Regions from separate parts of the Homo sapiens genome. Here region 2 is linked to region 1. Evidence: promoter capture Hi-C in human tissues and cell types (Jung and others, 2019). All regions are on one chromosome and are shown on one strand. The core of a region is centred on a gene start or on the middle of the fragment in contact, and the rest is flanking DNA. Distances in the headings are between cores, read along the strand shown. Region 1 holds the start of ZNF426 (zinc finger protein 426). Region 2 overlaps ZNF559 (zinc finger protein 559).

The links. The method cuts DNA at HindIII sites, captures the fragments that hold promoters and counts their contacts. A contact is called where the count stands out against the background at its distance.
Region 2: a contact is called between a fragment that was not itself captured here and the fragment with the promoter of ZNF426 in region 1, in 1 of the 25 tissues and cell types used here (adrenal gland).

What each region holds. Positions count from the first base shown.
Region 1 is chr19:9,537,166-9,543,715 of GRCh38, reverse strand. It overlaps ZNF426 (zinc finger protein 426), which reads left to right and starts at 5,071. Exons shown (of 8, transcript NM_024106.3): 1 at 5,071-5,141; 2 at 5,371-5,457. ZNF426-DT (ZNF426 divergent transcript) reads right to left here and starts at 5,050. Exons shown (of 2, transcript NR_134921.1): 1 at 4,718-5,050; 2 at 3,986-4,310. RefSeq lists enhancers at 2,850-4,049, 4,704-4,773, 4,974-5,023, 5,030-5,765. The HindIII fragment of the contact is 15,089 bases long and covers 750-6,550 here.
Region 2 is chr19:9,343,754-9,351,027 of GRCh38, reverse strand. It overlaps ZNF559 (zinc finger protein 559), which reads right to left. Exons shown (of 7, transcript NM_032497.3): 7 at 5,157-7,274. The region is part of intron 6 of ZNF559-ZNF177 (ZNF559-ZNF177 readthrough); the gene reads right to left. It also overlaps the pseudogene UBXN2AP1. Among named protein-coding and RNA genes, the nearest start is that of ZNF177, 16 kb to the left of the region's middle. The HindIII fragment of the contact is 7,820 bases long and covers 241-7,274 here.

The DNA.
Region 1 (6,550 bases), core at 3,822-6,321:
TATAAAGTAGGAGGTCATCAAAATATTGAATAAGGTGAGAAGCAGATGGATGGAAAGAAAGTAAATCATGAGAAAGTGCTTGACTGAAGTAACGGGGGCTGTCCCTGAAGCCTTGCAGCAGTACAGCCCAGGTAAGTTGCTGAGACTGACGGGTGTCAGGGTCAGTCCAAGTTAAAGTGAAGAGAGGCTGGGATTAAGGGTGTAAAGGAATAGTAAAGAAAGCATCTTTGAGATCCAGAACAGAATAATGGGTTGAGGAGGGAGGTATTGAGGATAGGAGAGTATATGGGTTTGGCACCATGGGGTGGATAGGCAAGACAATTTGGTTGATAAGGCAAAGATCCTGGACCAGCCTGTAAGACTTGTCCAGTTTTTGGACAGGTAGGATAGGAGAGTTGTAAGGAGAGTTTGTAGGCTTTAAAAGGTCATGCTGTAACAGGGAAGTGATAACAGGCTTTAGTCCCCTCAAATCCTGTTGTGGGATGGGATATTGGCATTGAGCAGGGTAAGGGTGATTAGGTTTTACCCCCAAGGGATGATAAGGGGTGCATGATCAGTTGCTAAGGAGGGAGTAGAGGTATCCCATACTTGTGGATTAAGGTAGTGAGACACAAGGGGAGGAGGCAAAGGAGGCTTTGAACTGGGGAAAAGGGTGGCAATGAGGTGTGGCTATAGCCCAGGAATAGTGAGGGAAGCAGAGAATTTAGTTAAAATGTCTTGACCTAATAAGGGAGCTGGGCAGGTGGGGATAACTAAAAAGAGTGCATAAAAGAAAGTTGTTCAAGTTGGCACCAGAGTTGGGGATTTTTAAGAGGTTTAGAAGCCTGGCCATCAATACCCACGGCAGTTATGAAGGCAAGGGAAACAGGCCCTTGAAAAGAAGGTAATGTGGAGTGGGTAGCCTCTGTATTGATTAAGAAGGGGACAGACTTGCCCTCCACTGTAAGAGTTACCCAAAGCATCTGTGATAGTCCAGGAGGCTCCCGAGGTGATCGGGCAGTGTCAGTCTTCAGCTGCTAAGCCGAGAAGATCTGGGAAGGAGTCAGTCAGACAGCCTTGGGCCAGAGTTCCAGTGGCTCTGGTAGTGGCTGCCAGGTGAGTTGGACAGTCCGATTTCAAGTGGGGTCCCACAGATGGGACATGGCTTAGGAGGAATCCTGGGCTGCGGGCATTCCTTGGCCCAGTGGCCAGATTTCCAGCACTTAAAGCAAGAACCTGAGGGAGGAGGTCCTGGAGGAACACCTGGCCTCTGTGGTTTAGGCATTTTGAAGTTCTTATGTGCTGGAGATGTGGCTGGGGTTTATCTCACAGCAGAGGCAAGTAATTGCAACTCAGAAATACAACGCCACTTGGCTGCCTCTTCTCTATTATTGTACACCTTCAAGGTGAGGTTAATTAAGTCCTGTTGTGGGGGTTGAGGGTCAGAATCTAATTTTTGGAGCTTTTTCTAGTCTTGGGAGCAGATTGGGTAATAAAATGCATATTGAGAATAAAATGCATATTGAGAATAAGATGGCCTTCTGGCCTCTCTGGTTCTAGGGTGGTAAACTGTCTAAGGGTTGTTGCCAAACAGGCCATGAACTGGGCCGGGTTTTTATACTTGATGAAAAAGAGCCTAAATGCTAACTGACTTGGGAGAGGTTGGATGAAGAAAAAGGAGCATTAACCTCGACTATGCCTTCAGCTCCAGCCACTTCTCTAAGAGGATATTGTTGGGCAGGTGGGGGAGGGCTAGTCATGGAATGAAACTGTAAGCTGGACCGGGTGTGAGAAGGGGAGGTGATAGAAAGATCACAGGGTAGGGAGCAGAGGCTGAGGAAGAATTAGTGAGAGGTGACAGCGTGCTGGCAGTCCTCACAGCCCTCGCTCACTCTTGGCGCCTCCTCTGCCTGAGCTTCCACTTTGGCGGCACTTGAGGAGCCCTTCAGCCCACTGCTGCACTGTGGGAGCCCCTTTCTGGGCTGGCCAAGGCTGGAGCCAGCTCCCTCAGCTTGCAGGGAGGTGTGGAGGGAGAGGCGCGAGCGGGAACTGGGGCTGTGCATGGTGCTTGCGGGCCAGCTGGAGTTCCAGGTGGGCGTGGGCTTGGCGGCTGCACTCGAAGCAGCTGGCCGGCCCTGCTGGCCCCAGGCAATGAGGGGCTTAGCACCCAGGCCAGCAGCTGCACAGGGTGTACTGGGTCCCCTAGCAGTGCCAGCCCACTGGTGCTGCGCTTGATTTCTCGCCAGGCCTTAGCTGCCTTCCCACAGGGCAGGGCTCAAGACTGGCAGCCCGCCATGCCTGAGCCTCCCACCCCCTCCATGGGCTCCTGTGCAGCTCGAGCCTCCCTGATGAGAGCTCCCCCCTGCTCCATGGTGCCCAGTCCCATCAACCACCCAAGGGCTGAGGAGTGCGGGCACATGGCGCGGGACTGGCAGGCAGCTCCACCTGCAGCCCCAGTGCGGGATCCACTGGGTGAAGCCAGCTGGGCTCCTGAGTCTGGTGGGGATGTGGAGAACCTTTATGTCTAGCTCAGGGATTGTGGAAACACCAATTGGCACTCTGTATCTAGCTCAAGGTTTGTAAACACACCAATCAGCACCCTGTCAAAACAGACCACTCGGCTCTACCAATCAGCAGGATGTGGGTAGGGCCAGATAAGAGAATAAAAGCAGGCTACTGAGCCAGCAGTGGCAACCCCCTTGGGTCCCCTTCCACGCTGTGGAAGCTTTGTTCTTTTGCTCTTTGCAATAAATCTTGCTACTGCTTACTCTTTGGGTCCATGCTGCCTTTAAGAGCTGTAACACTCACCGCAAAGGTCTGTAGCTTCACTCCTGAGCCAGCGAGACCACAAACCCACCAGAAGGAAGAAACTCTGAACACATCCGAACATCAGAAGGAACAAACTCCAGACACGCCGCCTTTAAGAACTGTAACACTCACCGCGAGGGTCCACGGCTTCATTCTTGAAGTCAGTGAGACCAAGAACCCACCAATTCTGGATACGTTAGGACCTGGCTCAGCTTGGCGAGGAGCAGCCTGAGGGGGAGGGGAGAGGTCAGATGGGTCCATAGAAAAGGAGGATTCAAAGGACAAGAAAGAAACAAGAAAGATTTGGGATGAGTCACATTGGGAGCAAAGACTAGGGACGGACCAATGTGTAAAGAATGCCTGGATGTCAGGCATCTCAGACCATTTGCCCATTTTATGACAAAAATTATCTAGATCTTGTAGGATGGAGAAATCAAAAGTGCCATTTTCTGGCCATTTAGAACCATTGTCAAGTTTGTACTGGGGCCAAGTGGTGTTGCAGAAGAAAATAAGGTATTTAGGTTTTAGGTCAGGTGTGAGTTGAATAGGTTTTAAGTTCTTGAGAACACAGGCTAAGGGAGAAGAACAGGGAATGGAGGGCAGAAGATTGCCCATAGTGAAGGAGGTAAGTTTAAAGAGAAAGGTAGAGACATGGAGAAGGCAGTGGAGTGGGGTGGGGGTGAGCAGCCCTGGGCTGTAATGTGGGTAAGCAGCCAAAGCAGGCAGCCCTGCAATTGACTTGCCACCAAGGGAATGTGGGTGAATGATCAAGGCAGGCATCCCCACAGTGATCAGACACCAATGGAATGTAGGTGAATAATCAGGCAGGTATCCCTACAGTGATTAGCCACCAAGGAAAGACTGTCTTCCTGAGTCCGTGACTGGAGCTGGAGTTTTGGGTCCACAGATAAAATGTGTCTCCTTTGTCTCTACTGGAGAGGAAAAAGAACTGGAATTGGAAGGACAGAGAGATGGAAGGGTAGTGAGAGAGGCTGGAGAAGAGAGTGAAGAGACTGCTTACCCAATTTGAAATTGGTGAGATGTTCCTTGGGCTAGTCTGAGGACCCGAGGTAGTAGGTGGAGCTCCTCACGGAGTGAGGGTGAGGACGGGGCCAGTCTCCCAAGGGAGTCCCCCTGTCCCAGGTTTCGGAACCAAATGTTACACACATCCATGTGAAGAGACCACCAATAGGCTTTGTGTTAGCAACAAGGCTGTTTATTCACTTGGGTGCAAGTGGGCTGAGTCCGAGAAAGGGGTCAGCAAAGGGAGATAGGGGTGGGGCAGTTTTATAGGATTTGGGTAGGTAGTGGAAAGTTAAAGGTGGTTATCTTTTGCTGGCAGGGCCGGGGGTCACAAGGTGCTCGGTGGGGAACTCCTGAGACTCGTCCAGAAGAAGAATGTCACAAGGTCAAGAGATCAGTTGGGGTGGGGCAGCAACAAATCACAATGGTGGAACGTCATCAGTTAAGGCAGGAACTGGCTGTTTCACTTCTTTTGTGGTTCTTCAGTTGCTCCAGGCCATCTGGATGTATACGTGCAGGTGACAGGGTTTATGATGATTTAACTTGGGCTCAGAGGCCTGACAAGTAGTTCAAGACCAGCCTGGCCAGCATGGCAAAACCCTGCCTCTACTAAAAATACAAAAATTAGCAGGGTGTGGCAGCATGCACCTGTAATTCCAGCTACTTGGGAGGATGAGGCAGGAGAATCGCTTGAACCTGGGAGGTGGAGGTTGCAGTGAGCTGAGATGGCTCCACTGAACTCCAGCCTTGGTGACAGAGTGAGATTTTGTCTCAAAAAAAAAGAAAAGATGTTTTAAAGCAAGGCAGAAAACCTAGAAATTATTTTTAAAAACAATTCTTTTAGCTGCATAGAAAATGTTTTTTACATCAAATGTTGAAATAGTAACAGAGCAAAAGACGTAGTTACCTATTTTCTACATGCATAACACATTGGCTCCTTCCCCTATGGCCGCCCTGCTGCGGCCTCGCCCACAGGCCTGGCTATAACTTCAACCTTTTCCTCTGGGCCTGGACCCACATTCCTCCCCGCCCCCTGCCCGTAGCCCTGCCCACAGGCTTGGCTCTAACCTCGACCTTGCCTTCTGGACCCATTTCTGCCTGCAGCCCCCACGCTGAGCCCACCCCAAGGTCCTCCGCAGCCAAGCAGATGGAAAGTAGAATTTTTCTGCCTCGAGGAGGTATTACACGGCAGAAACCCTAGTCCCGAAACCCCGCCTGGCCCGAGGCGGAGAGCGTAAATGACGTCAGCGGTGCGCCGTTCCTTTTGTGACGCCGGCTGTGAGCGCCTGAGAGTCTTTTTGCCTTTCAGAGTTAAGGCCTCACTGGCCTGGGTGAGTTCCGAGGAGATGAACTGGTTTTGGGGTGAAGGACGGGTTTGGCCCGGACGTTAGAGAGGCCTGGCCCGCTCTGCTCGTGTCTGCTGGGCCCGCTAGCGTCCGCTCGGACCGTCGCTCCTCGGGAGGAGTCGGGTTTATAGTTACGGTGTCCGCAGGGTGTTTTCATCTGTGCGCCCCTCTCCAAAGGCCTCCAAAGCAGCGTTTGTGAATTTTTTTCCGGCAGGAAAATAATTGCTGCCTTTTGCATCCGCGTTGGCTCCGTCCCCAGGATCTTCCCGGTTCAGGGACCTGGCGATTTCTGAGTGTTCCGGTGAGCACTGGGTGAAAGTTGGTTCTAGGGGGCCTTTTCTGTCTTCTCTTATGCAAACGAATGTTTCATCTGTAAGTTTGGTTTCGTCTTATTGTGTTGTGTTTTATTTTTGACCATTACTTTCATGGCGAAAGATAAAGATGCTTTTTAGGTTTATAGGGTGTGCGTATTTGTGTATGTGAATATAAACGTTTGTAGACCGCAAGTCTTTCTGCTAAAGAATACTAAGAATAATAATTCATTATCTTCGAATGGAGTTCCTAGGCCTGTACATCCCAAGAGAGCTTCTTAATCAGACCTCCAGAGGGAAAGGATGAAGGCTTTATTATTCTAGTATCACAATAATCAAATTTACAATGAACAGGATGGTTGGATTAAGGAGTTTGAAACCAGCCTGGCTAAGATGGTGAAACCCCGTCTCTACTAAAAATAGAAAAAAAATTAGCCGAGCGTGGTGGTGGGGTCTTGGAATCTCAGCTATTTGGGAGACTAAGGCAGGAGAATCACTTGAACCCAGGAGGCGGACGTTGCAGTGAGCTGAGATCGTGCCACTGCACTCCAGCCTGGGAGACAGAGTGAGCCTCCGTCTCAAAAGAAAAAAAAGAGAAACGAAGGATGTGTGCATTTTAAGCTACATTGATTGTATATCAATGAAAAAAAAAAAAAGCTGGCTGGGTACAGTGGCTCACACCTGTGATCCCAGCACTTTGAGAGGCTGAGGCAGGAAGATCTCTTGAGCCCAGGAGTTTAAGACCAGCCTGGGCAACATAGCAAGACTCCATCTCTCCAAAAAAAAAAAAAAAAAAAGAGTTAAATATTCTATACAGATGCCACCAAACTGAATATTTGTGGGCCTAGTCAGCCCTAGGACCCCTAGTTTGAGACCCCTGGGAGTAGGTGTGATCTATACCAGGAGTCCAGAACTGTGGTTTTTGTGACTTTAGGGTTTTAGTCTTATTGGTAGAAGGAGGCCTATAGAGTTTTTGTGAATTTGGTTCATGGATAATGAACTGCGGAACTTTCACTGTTTATCATCATTTGACTCCCATTCTGTAGGTGATTGTTTGAGCCACTGTTTCATGTTTGATTAATT
Region 2 (7,274 bases), core at 2,901-5,400, 190 kb after region 1:
TGAAACCAACCTGGCCAACATGGTGAAACCCTGTCTCTACTACAAACACAAGTTAGCCAGCTGTGGTGGCACGCACCTATAGTCTCAGCTACTTGGGAGGCTCAGGCACAAGTCCCAGCTACTCGGGAGGCTGAGGCACAAGAATTGCTTGAACCTGGGAGGTGGAAGCTGCCGTGAGCTGAGATGGTACCACTGCACTCCAGTCTGGGTGATACAGTGAGACTCTGTCTCAAAAAAAAAAAGTGTAGTATTAGCAAAAGGACAGACACATAGATTAGCTGAAACGGAATAGATCCCAGAAATAGATTTAAACATAAGTCATCAATTTCATTTTCAAAAAAGGTACAAATAATCCAATAGAGAAAAGACTGTTTTCAACCAACTGTCGTGCAAAAAAAAATTAAAACATTCGTATCCCTTCTACCACCTCCAAAAGTAACCTTAACCCGTGCATTGCAAAAAGGATCACAGAAGGGCTCGCACTTCCCAATTTCAAAAATTACTCTAAAGCTACAGTAATCAGGACAGTGTGGTTACAAACAGGTTAGACATGTACAATGGAGGTGAACTGAGAGTCTAGAAATAAATCTTAATGCTGGGCACAGTGGCTCACATCTGTAATCCCAGCACTTTGGGAGACAGAGGCAGGAGGATTGCTTGAGCCCAGGAGTTCAAGACCAGTCTGGGCAACAAAATGAAACCCTGTCTCTACAAGAAATACAAAAATTAGCCAGGCGTGGTGGTGTATACCTGTAGTCCCAGCTACTTGGGAAGCTCAAGGAGGAGGATCACTTGAGCCTGGGAGGTCAAGGCTGCAGTGAGCCAAGATCACACCACAGCACTCCAACCTGGGTTAACAGAGCAGGACCCAGTCTCAAAACAAATAAATAAGCCTTTACATTTATGGTTAACTGATTTTTGACAAGAGTGCCAAGACAATTCAATGGGATAAACAGTCTTTTCAACACATATGCTAGGGTAACTGGGTGTTACATGCAGAAGAATGAAGCTGGATACACTGTTCACAGCATGCACAAATATTAGTTCAAAATGGATCATAGAACTAACTTTAAGAGCTAGAACTATAAAAATCCTAGAAGAAAATATAAAAGACTTCACGACCTTGGGTTAGGCAATGGTTTCTCAGATTTGACACCAAAAGCATAAGAAAAAAATAAACTTAAAACTTTTACACTCGAAAGGATATCATCAAGAAAGTGAAAGGACAACACAAAGAATGAAAGAAAATACTTGTAAACGATTTATTTGATATGGTATTTGTACCTAGAATTTATAGGGCTCTTGAAACCCAATAATGAAAAGAACTCAATTTAAAAATGGCAAAGGATCTAAATAGACATTCTCCCAAAGAAGACAGATACATAGTCAACAAACTGATGAAAAGATGATCAATATCTTTAGTTTTCAGGCGAGCTAAGCCCAGAAAAAAAAAATAATAAAAATCTTTAGCCACCAGGGAAATAAAAATAAAAAACTACAAATACTGTTTCCCACCCAATAGGTGTTATCAAAAAAAAGATTAAAAAGATAGTTACTAAATGGTAAAAGATTCAATGATTTACTCCCAAGACCAGAAACAAGACAAGAATGTCTAGTCTCTCAATTTCTATTTAACAATACACTGCAGGTTCTGGTTAATGTAACAAGAAAAATACAAAACGCATACAGATTGGAAAGGAAGAAGTAAAAAATTTTATATGCAGACAACAGAATTGTCCTAGTAGAAAATATGATAGAACCTACTAAAAAGCTGCCAGAAGCTGGGTGCGGTGGCTCACGTCTATAATCCCACCACTTTGGGAGGCCGAGGCAGGTGGATCGCTTGAACCTAGGAGTTCTAGACCAGCCTGGGCAACATGGCGAAACCCTGGCTCTACTAAAAATACAGAAAAATTTAGCTGGGTGTGGTGGTGCACGCGTGTAGTCCCAGTTACTCCAGAAGGTGAGGCACAAGAATCGCTTGACCCCGAGAGGCGGAGGTTGCAGTGAGCCAAGCTCATGCCACTGCACTCTAGCCTGGGATACAGAGTGAAACTTGTCTTAAAAAAAAAAAGCCCATGCGCGTTCCTCAGGTCTTGCAGGCAGCAGGCGTGGGTGAACGCTTGGCACTTGGTGGAGACAGAGAGGCCGGCGGGATATCAGCAGCGCAGCCGGGGTACCGGAGGTGGTCTCGGGCGAGGCGCTCCGGGTCTGAAGGGCTCCAGCCAAACGGAGCTCGCAGCCAAACAGTGCTGGTGGCTCCTGAGCTGAGTGAGGCCTAGGCTTGGAGGCTGTGCTCGGAGTAACGCAAAAGAGAATGAAAGACGTAGATAATCTCGAAAGTATAAAAGACTGGGTTTGTGAAACAGGACCTGACAATCAAGGTCTTGGTGATAATCAATAAACAAATTGTGAATAGTTTGTTGATAGCCTTTTTGAGGAAGCTCAGAAGGTTGGTTCCAAATGCTTGTCTCCCACTTAACAAAAGAAACAGGTAGACGTAAACATAAAATTATGGAAAAATGGATTCACCGTCAACAATTATTTCAGAAGTTATTCAAATGGTGCAAGTCAGCAGTTTCTGAACTCCATCAAAAAGGGGGAATTACCTTCAGAATTACAGGGAATTTTTGATAAAGAGGTGGGTGTTAAAGTTGAAGACAAGAAAAATGAAACATATATGTCTACGAAGCCTGTCTTCCAGCTCTTTTCAGGACAGGGTCACCAAGTAGGAAGGGTAAGCCATATCAAAGACTTCATTGAAAACTACCAAGGATCTCAAAAGAAGTCCTCCCCTGTCCCTGGCAACAGTTTGTCCTATCCTCAGATTGTTAGATGAGACACTCACACTGGAAGAAGCAGATTTACAGAGTTTTGTTGTCAGAGACTCCAAAAAACTGCTGCACCATTGATTTTTGATAGACTAAGTGGAAAATCTGCAGAGAAATGATGGTTGTAAGCAGACATGCAAACCAAATTGGGGACTGGGTAAGTCAGATTCACTGGACTTTTGGTTCGGGTACTATTGAACTCTCTCCTGATGAAATGTTTAGATAAGTGCAAGTTAGAAAAGTAGCATATGACTGGAAACTATATTCTGTGCACTTTTTCCAAAAGGCTACTCAGAGAAATATATTTATTTCAAATACTAATTATCAAGATATATTAAATAGCTGTATTATTTAGAATCTTAATATAGTATAAATTGGCAAATATGTTCACAATATTATTTGTTCAAATACCATTCCCAAACAGGGATTTATTTAAATGTTAGCTGTCTCAGAGTTATTAAATGGCTAATACATTGAAAAATTATACATGGCAGGTTTAAAAGCATCAATGTAATTATTTTACAACTTAGATGCAAAGCTGGAGAGAGCTGTTTTTACCACAGCTATGCCTATACCTCAAAGTGTCCTTAGTTATCACTCTGTAATGGCAACATATATTTGAATATTAATTTGGTAGCTGGGCGTGATGGCTCATGCCTGTAATCCCAACACTCTGGGAGGCCGAGGTGGGTGGATCACCTGAGGTCAGGAATTCAAGACCAGCCTGGCCAACATGGCGAAACCTCGTCTCTACTAAAAATACAAAAATTAGCTGGGGGTGGAGGCGGGTGCCTGTAATCCCAGCTACTCGGGAGGCTGAGGCAGGAGAATCACTTAAACCTGGGAGGTGGAAGTTGCAGTGAGCCAAGATGGCACCACTGCACTCCAGCCTGGGCAGCAAGAGCAAAACTCCATCTCAAGAAAACAAAAAACAAATATGAATCTGGCGATGATATCAAAGATCTATTTTCATTTAAGAATAAAATTGTGGCCAGGTTCAGTGGCTCACGCCTGTAATCCCAACACTTTGGGAGGCCAAGATGGGAGGATCGCTTGAAGCCAGGAGTTCAAGACTGGTCAACATAGTGAGACCCCAATCTCTATTTTAATTTAAAAAATAAAAAAATAAAATTATGTAGCTTATTATAATGTTAATATATTCTAAGTATAATGTTAATATAAATCTTCCAGAACAAATTAACAAGGGTGCAGCATACAAGATGAATATATGTAAAAAAACTGTGTTCCTCTATAGTAGTAGTGAACTAGCAGAGAAATTGAAATTTTTAAAATACCATTTGCAATAGTGTCAGAGAAAAAATGCCTAGGAAGACCCAAACACCGAAAAACACAAATACTACTGAGAAAAAAATTATAAATCCTAAATAAGTGGAGAGATATATTATGTTCATGGGTTGAAATGCTCAATATTGTGAAGACATCAATTATTCTGCAGATTCAACACAATGATAATCAAAATCTTAGTGAATTACTTTGGGGGTGTGGGGTGGTGCTGGTAGAAATTGACAACCTGATTCTAAACTTTATATGGAAATACGAAAGTCCTGTAACAGCTGTAAGTCAACAAGGTACAGCCACATCAAGACCAAATGTGGCTCACAGCCTATAACTGTATAGGTTGAATGGAATGTGAGAACTATTTTTATATTTTAAAAGGTCTGTAATAGAAAAAATAATATGCAACAGAAACTATATATAGCATGTAAAGCTTAAAATCTCTACAATCTGGTCTTTTATAAAAAACTTTGCCAACCTCTGACCTAAAATAGTAAAGACAACTCTGAAAAGAAAAAGCTGGAAGACTAAACTCTATCGGACTTCAAAAGTTATGAAGTTGTCAAGAGAGGGTAGTCTTGGAATAAAAGATAAGTAGCTATATGGAACAGAACAGTTGAGAAGCAGACACACGTATAAAGACAACCAATATTTCAAGAAAGAAGCAAAGGCAATTAAGTGGAGAAAGGATAGTCTTTTCAATAAATGATGCTAGAACAATGAGATACAAAGAAAAAAAAAACCCCAAATTTTGATCCAATCTTTGTGCCATATAAAGATTTTAACTCAAAGTGCACCATGTACTTGTACCACAAGTACAACATATTAAATATATTGTAATACAGATACTCCTCAACTTATGACAGGGCTATGTCCTGACAAACCTATTGTAAGTTGAAACTATCATAAGTTGACAATTTGTAACCCCATCATAAATTGAGAAACATATTGAATGCATAATATGTTTGCACCATTGTAAATTAAAAACAATACTAAGTCAAACTCCATAAATTGGGAAGTGTATTTATGTTACCTCTGTTAAAATGAAATGTTTTATTATATATTTAAATGTACATTATATTAAATATAAAGTATTAATATCAAATACACTAATAGGTTTAATATTAAATATATTACAAATTTTAAACTCTCAAAATTCAATAAATATTGCAAAACCACATGATCGTGCCACGCACTTCAGCCTGGGAGACAGAGTAAAACCCTGTCTCTATATAAAAAAAAATAAAAATAAATAAAAAATAAAGCCAATATAAACAGGCAAAAGATTTGAACAGACTCTTCCCCAAAGGCTTAAAGAAGGCCAGTAAGCACGTGAAACCATGTAAGACATCATTAGTCACTAGGGAAATGCAAATTAAAACCATGAGATACTACTACACACCTATTAAAATGGTCAAAATAAAAAAGACTGACCATACCAATAATTGGCAAGGATGCAGAAGAATTGCAACTCTTATATACTGCTCATGGAAATGTCAAATGGCATAACTACTTGAGAAAGGTTTAGCAGTCTCTTAAAAACTTAAACGTACACTAACATATGATCTGATCATTCCACTCTTAACTATTTAAAGAAACAGAAGCACATGTTTAAAGAATAATCTGCATATGGGTATTCAAGGCAGTTTTAATTGCAATAGCCAAAAGGTAGAAATAACACATGGATAAATAGCTTGTGGTATGCCTTGCAATGGAATACTATTCAGCAGTGAAATGGACCCTACAACATAAATGGATCTGAAAAAATTATCCTGAAAGATGCCAGACTATATGATTCCATTTATATAAAAACTGTACATAATATAAAGTCGTCTATTCTAAGAGAAAGCAAATCAGTGGATCAGGAGAGTGACAGGCAGGGAAGGGTGAGGAGAAGAAGAAATTATAAAAGGGCATGAGGAAACCATCTGGTTTGATAGGTATGTTCATTATCTTGATGGTGTGTATGTACACATATGTGTATGTGTCCAAACTTAAAGTGTATGCTAAAAACATGTGCAGTTTATTACATGGCAATTATATCTCAAACTTACTGAAAGAACCTGCCTCAATAATTCAAACCAAAGATTCTCAGCAACAGTGAAAAAAGATCATTAAATGTACACTTCACCAAAGACTCATAAGCATATGAAAGTGATGTTCAATATCATTAGTCTTTAAAGACATATAGAAAGGCAAACTTAAATAATTTATTTGGTTTTCTTTGCTGGCGTCAATTTTCTTTTTTTTTTGAGACAGGGTCTCATCCTGTTGCCCAGGCTAGAGTGTAGTGGCACGATCAGGGCTCACTGCAACCTCTGCCTCCCTGACCAGGCTCAAGCAATCCTCTTGCCCCAGCCTCCTAAATAGCTGGGACTATAGGCACAAACCAGTACACCCAGTTAATCTTATTTATTCTTTGTCAAGATGAGGTTTCACTATATTGCCCAGGCTGGTCTTGAACTCCTGGGCTCAAGTGATCCTTCTGCCTTGGCCTCCCAAATTGCTGGAATTAAGGTGTGAGCCAGCATGCCTGGCCAGTACCAATTTTCTTGTGTGCAATAAGTGAAAATTTGTACCCCTAAATGTTCCTCAATTCCCTATAACTAAGTTTTTCATTAAAAAACCCTCTGAGGATATTTTAATTTTTTTTTCTTTTTTTGAGATGGTCTTACCATATCATCCAGGCTGGAGTGCAGTGGCGTGATCTGAGCTCACTGCAGCTTCCGCCTCCCGGGTTCAAGCAATTCTGCCTCAACCTCTCGAGTAGCTGGGATTACAGGCACGTACCACCATGCCTGGCTAATTTTTGTATTTTTAGTAGAGATGGGGTTTCACCACGTTGGCCAGGCTGGTCTCGAACTCCTGACCTCAAATGATCCACTCGCTTCGGCCTTTCAAAGTGCTGGGATTACAGGAATGAGCCACTGCACCCAGCCTAAAATTGTTTTAAAGACTAGGGAAGTGTAGTAGTGACAAATGGGGGAAAGAGTGGAACTCCTCAATAATAAAGAGTTCCATCTGTAACCGTGAACAATTGAGATAACTCAGGATCTTCAGACCAGCTAGATATTTTTATTAATGATATATAACCTCTTTAAAACATGTATATTTACCAAAAGCATTCTGATATGGCATTCCTCTAGT